2 separate regions of the Homo sapiens genome follow, and region 2 is linked to region 1. The links are contacts of gene promoters, found by promoter capture Hi-C in blood cells and fetal thymus (Javierre and others, 2016). All regions are on one chromosome and are shown on one strand. The core of a region is centred on a gene start or on the middle of the fragment in contact, and the rest is flanking DNA. Distances in the headings are between cores, read along the strand shown.

Region 1 (3,014 bases), core at 465-2,964:
ATTAGAAAGTGACTTTATTTTTACTTTTGGTGAAAAGTTCACAATACATTTGTTATCGAGGCAAGATTCTTAGAGGCGCATTGCAACTCAAAAAATAAAACAAAAGCTGGCTGTTTCCATAACCTCACTCACTTCAGATCTACCTCATCATTTGGGGCAGACAAAAGGAGGGAAGGGCACCCTGTTGTTCCGTTGCAATGTAACAAAATGTGACAAGAAAAATATTTATAAAGCCAAATTCTCTTGATCAGATTCAGGAAAAGTCAGCGACCCACAGGTTAATTTTTTTTTAATTTAAATGAAGAATGTCCAGTCTTACATATGGTGTTGGAGTCACCTATGATCACCTGAGTCATCCTGACCATACGTGAGCTGCACGCTCAGCTGCGGGTGTGACCCGTTTACTGGAAAACTCCAGCCCGAAGGGATCTGGAAGCAGTTTTTAAGACTGTGTGTGTATGAGACAGGTCGCGTCCTAGAGCAAACGGTTTTTTTTGTAAACAGACGGCATCCTAACAGGGGCGGTGCTACCCAGTCTGCGGGGAGTCGCTCGGGATCGAAGCACCTCAGAGCTCCTTCGAGCGTATCCCTTCGGGAAAGCCCCACGCCTTCCCCGAGGCGCCTCCTCCGGCCTGCAGCACGCCCTCGTCCTGCACTTCCTCCTCGGAATCTGCAAGGTATGCAGCTACCAGCCTCCCCAGGCGCCGGTTCGTTTGGTTTGCGCGGGGTCCGCGCCTTGGGGTCACCTCGCGAAAAGAGCGTGCGGCGTCCGGTGCACTGCGGTGTCAGCGCCCGCTTCGGGGACGCCCCGCCGCGGGGGCTCAGCGGGCGCGCACGCGCGGCCTCCTCCGCAGTGTGCAACCCCGCGGGGGAGGAGGGAATCGCGGCGACGTCACTGCCCCGAGGCTTCCAAAGGGGCGGAGCCTCCCGGGAGGCTGCGGCGCTCCCAGCCAGCGCGCGCGCGCGCGCCCCCGCCCCCACGTGTCCCTGCGGCCCCGGGGAATGTGGGTCAGGGAGCCGAGCGGCCTCACGTGTCCCCGCCCGCCGCCGCCGCCTCAGCGCCCATTATGTAATGCCGCGTCACGCGCCCGCCCAGCCAACCGGCGCCCGCGCGCCGCCGAACGTAAACACAGCGCGCACGTGGCTCGCGCGGCCGGGCCATGTGAGGGGGGGGCCGGGCCGGGCGCCGGCAGGCCGCGCTGCGGCTTTGCAGGGAGACAAGAGGGCGGGCGCCGGGCGGCCCGGGGGGCGATGGGAACCGAGCCAGAGGCGGACACGCGGCGCGCAGCAGCCCACCCCGCCCCACCGGCCATGGGGACACCCCCTGCCGCCGCCCCCCAAAGTGCCCCGCGGGCTCTGAGCGCTCCCTCCGGCCATCCCCCACCCGCCGCAGTCCGGTTCTTACCTGCATTCACCTCCATGGTGCCCTCGCGGAGGCGGCCGGGGCCGCCCGCTTCCCGCAGAGGGGGCAGCGCCGCCGCCGCCGCCTCAGCGCCGCGCCGCCCCGGGCTGGAAGCAGCGGTGGTCGCGGGGCCCCCTCATGGGCAGAGCGGGCGGGGCTCCCGGGCCCCAGGCCGTGCAGCGCACAGCAGGCTGCAGCGAGAGAGGGTGGCGGCGGCCGGCGAGCGGCGCTCCTCGCTGGGTCCCTGACAACAAAAGCGGCGGCGCGGCGGCTTCCTGCAGCCAGCGCACCGCGGCGGCGAGGGCGGCTGACGGGGAGGGCAGCCGCGACCATGTGACCCGCGCACACACCCCCTCCCTCCGCCCGCCCTCGGCCGGCCGCTGCGGCGACCTCCGCCCCGCCGCTCCCCTCCCTCCCGCCCGCTTCCCGGCTCCCCGGCTACCCTTTTCTCCTGCGCTTCCCCCTTCTCCCCTTCCTTCTCCTTGCCGAGCCCCTCCTCTTCCTTCGTTTTTCCCCTCCGTGCCGTAAACCTCTTCTCCGTTTCCCTCCGCCGCATATTCCTCCCCTCCTCCTCCTCTTTCCTCTCCTCCCGGCTGCCTTTCCCGCCTCTGGCCGGGAGTCCTCTCCACGCCCTGCCCCCCAACCTGGTGGCTCTTAGGTCAAAGCGGTGGCTTGGCGCCGAGCAAGGGTGATTCTCAGGACCCCGGCTGGGCCGGCTGGTTCGGGCTTGCTCAACCCTTGCGCCCCCCACCCCCACCCCCCGCTCCCACCCGACCGACCTCCAAACGCTGGTCTCTGAGGGCACAGACCCTTCCCTTTCCCTCTGCACCCTCTAGGTGATTTTATCCAATCTCATAGCTTAAGTAGACCTATGTTCTTGTGATTCCCAGATTTATATTTCAAGCCAAGACCTCTCTTCTAATCTCCAGATTCCTACATCCAGCAGCCCGTTTGATTATGCCGCTTTTTTGCATCTCAGATTTTAGACGGGTGTACGCGTGTGTCCGAACTCAGCTAATGTGCAGTCAAGATCTGGGCGTTTCACCTTGAATGTAAATTTTAGATCAAAAGAAAAAAGCTAGACATAAATTGTATGCGTGCTGAGGTGAATTCTGAGGAAAGTGCATTGATGCCCGCAATTTAAACGCATTACTGAAGTAAGATGGGCTGATAGAGGCATGAATAGATGATATGGTAAGATGTTAAACTTAGGCGATGGGGATATGGGTGTTGCTTGTAAAACTCTTTCCAGTTTGCTCTGAAATTCTTCACTATAGAAGGTGGGGAAAATGTCACGTGGAAGACATATTTACATGTGCAACACCCTATTTCCCCACCCCCCAGGTTTCTTCACCATATCAATATTTACTGTTTTGGTAAATCTGCAAGTTCCTGAAGCCAGCAAAATTATGTTTCTCTCCTAACACTCTCACAGCCTTTTATTCTCCATTCAATCCATTAGCAAGTCTGAGCTATTCTACCTTCAAAATATGTTCAATCCCTGTTTCTCACCGTTGGTATTGCTAGAGCAAACCATTATCTCTTGCCTCAGCTACTGCTCTGGTTCCCTAACTAGGAGAGTGCTTCTTGGGTCCTCCTACAGTCACTTCTC
Region 2 (2,986 bases), core at 399-2,898, 1.7 Mb before region 1:
TGCTTTCATCAGGAAGCATCTAATGTCTACTTTGTCTTTAGTTGCTTATTAAGATTGATCACTTAGTATAGGTGTTGCCAGCTTGATCCATCTATTACAACTTTTCCACCAGCTTTTTACTTGATGGTTTTAAACAGACATTGATATTCATGACTCACTTTTATTTTTAAAATTGTGCAGGATTGGGTACTAGTACAGCTAAAGAAGCAAAGGAATATTTTGCTGATATGGAAAGGCATCGCATCTTGTTTAGATATGCTGGTCCTGAAGATGATGCTGCCATTACCTTGGTAATTAAGTTAATTTTTTAAAAGCTTTTGTTAGCCATCCCCCTACCTTCTATTCCTTTCCTCCCAGTCCTGGTTCCCTATGATAAGTCTCTTTTGAATGCTCAAGCTAGTTAATTTTAATTTTTCCCCCAGATGATGCTGTGCTTGTATAAACTTCTTTAATTGAAAGACCTTAGTTTAAATGTGTTTTTGATTAAAATATTGTAAAATAACCTAATTTTCCAGAAATTAAGAATTAGTTATTGGCCACTTATACATTTTAATTTTGTAATAAAATTTATTTTATTTTTAATGTGCAAAATCGTTACCTGGAATCTTTCAGGCATTTAGTAAGAAGAAGATTGATGACAGAAAAGAATGGTTAACAAATTTTATGGAAGACCGGAGACAGCGTAGGCTACATGGCTTACCAGAGGTTAGTCTTAAAGAGTGGTGACCTGGGGAAAGAAGGAGAGAGAGACTAGAATTCATGCAGTAATAATGATAATATTGCTATATAACTTTTCTCTTAGCAATTTTTATATGGTACTGCAACAAAGCATTTGACTTATAATGATTTCATCAACAAGGAATTGATTCTCTTCTCAAACTCAGACAATGAAAGATCTATACCATCTCTTGTTGATGGTGAGTAATATTTAAAAACCTCATTTTTTAATGTTATTTACTATAGTTTAATTTCATGTACTTTAAGCCATCCTTATGATACATATTAAAATTCTTACTTTAAATCTTGTATATGAAGAGCTTATTCAGAGGAATTTAAGGCCTTTTTGATTTTGCTTTTGTTTTATGTTTTCATAGTGCTGAAATCTTTAATATTCCTTAATTTGAAACTTTTAAACCTTTTCCGAGTTTTTCAGGAAAATTAACTTTAAAAGTCTTAAAGCTTTTGCCCAAGTTGTCTGCAGATTTTCTAAAAAAGTAAAATGGAACTTTGATAATTTCTAAAATATTTATCAGAGATTAAATTTTAAAAAGCTTTTATTCTGTATTACCCAAAGCCTAATGCTTTAACTTAACTTGAAAAAAATTTAGGAACTATTTCTAATTTGAAAAAAATTTAGAAACTATTTCTCGTTAGTTGAAGCAGATTTTGATCTTCTATCTAGAACTTTTTTTTTTCTCATAACCTTTATGAAGTTTGTTGATCTTTGTATTGCTTGGCTTTTCTGGTAATAGCAGATGTTTCTACCTATCCCTCAAGTTCTAGCCACAAATCGCCTTTCTTCTATGAAGCCTTCCTAGCAATTCTACTCTAAATTGGTCTTAGATACCTAAACTTCTATACCAATTATTATGTACCTCTTATTTTACCTTTGTTCATTTTGCCTCTAGAATTAGATTACAAAATTCTTAAAGAAGTTGCCATATTTTATCATCCTCATGTTTTTACCATACTCTGGGTCCAGTATGATTACAGTGATAGCATATACTGAAAAGATTGTTACTGTGCTTATTGGCCTAGAGCCAGGGTGTCTAACCTTTTGGCTTCCCTGGGCCACATTGGAAGAGGAAGAATTGTCTTGGGCCACATGTAAAAATACACTAACACTAACGATAGCTGATGAGCTTAAAACAAAAACAAACAAAAAACAAAAATAATTGCAAAAAAACCAAAAAACAAAAATAATCGCAAAAACAAACAAACAAAAAACCTCATGATGTTTTAAGAAAACTGACAAATTTGTGTTGGGCCACATGCAGCCCACGGGCCACGGGTTGGACAAGCTTGGCCTAGAGCAAGAAGAATGGTAAGGGAGCAGAGTGATTTGCTCACATTGTTTCATGCAATCCTTATGAAAACTATATTAAGAAAGTAATTATTTCTATTACTTGGATGAGGACATAGACTTACTAGTTATTTGCTTAGTCACATGGTAAATGGCCAAGTTGAGAAGAATATACAGATTAGTGAGATTCTAAAGCCTTTATTCTTCACTACCACAATAAATCGCTTTTTATAAGGGTTTTCCTGATGTGGGATACTTAGAATAGATTTCAGGCTCCTTGATGGCATGCTGGCAATTTAGTTAGCTACAAATGGCGTTTTGGTTGTTTGAGTGTTTGGAAACTACTGTTAAAGGAGTTTGGTACCACTAGGTGATTCTTTAAGGCCAGAATGTTGTCTTTCAATTGGCAGTTCACTTTTGGAGTAGATGGAGATGGCATAAAAACATCTTAGTATATACCTGCAGATGGCTTTCTAGGAAAAAACAAACAAACAAAACAAACGTGTTAGTATGTACTCACTTTGTTACAGAATCTCAAGTAACAATTTTACTGGTGTTCTTGAAAAGCAAATTGTATCTTTGCTTTATTCCCCTGAATTGTTACAACTATATCTTGAAGTAACATTTTAAAAGAGCTCTTTTAAAAATAGGCTTTAAACCTGGCCAGCGGAAAGTTTTATTTACCTGTTTCAAGAGGAATGATAAACGTGAAGTAAAAGTTGCCCAGTTGGCTGGCTCTGTTGCTGAGATGTCGGCTTATCATCATGGAGAAGTAAGCATTAAGATTGGAATCAATTGAGAACTGTAATTATTGTCTTGAAGAATGATAATTACACATAGTATTTTTCCTTTAGTAAAGTCTTTGGAAATGTAAAAGAATTAAGAGAATATACAGATTAGTGAGATTCTAAAGCCTTTATTCTTCACTTGGATTTTAATTCAAGTTGGGGAGTAATTATAGAA

What was found. Contacts are between HindIII fragments. The CHiCAGO score rates a contact against its expected background, and 5 or more counts as called.
Region 2: a fragment that was not itself captured here is called in contact with the fragment with the promoter of NR1D2 in region 1 in 1 of 17 cell types (total CD8 T cells); the score reaches 6.1 in total CD8 T cells.

Annotation. Positions count from the first base shown.
Region 1 is chr3:23,943,986-23,946,999 of GRCh38, reverse strand. NR1D2 (nuclear receptor subfamily 1 group D member 2) reads right to left here and starts at 1,714. Exons shown (of 8, transcript NM_005126.5): 1 at 1,406-1,714. The coding sequence starts at 1,421. It overlaps LOC124909354 (a long non-coding RNA gene), which reads left to right and starts at 1,820. Exons shown (of 2, transcript XR_007095845.1): 1 at 1,820-3,014. It also overlaps a transcript of NKIRAS1 not described here. RefSeq lists silencers at 623-1,164, 661-1,850. The HindIII fragment of the contact is 14,696 bases long and covers 1-3,014 here.
Region 2 is chr3:25,624,491-25,627,476 of GRCh38, reverse strand. TOP2B (DNA topoisomerase II beta) reads left to right here. Exons shown (of 36, transcript NM_001330700.2): 16 at 181-290; 17 at 613-705; 18 at 803-917; 19 at 2,674-2,795. Among named protein-coding and RNA genes, the nearest start is that of TOP2B, 39 kb to the left of the region's middle. The HindIII fragment of the contact is 750 bases long and covers 1,274-2,023 here.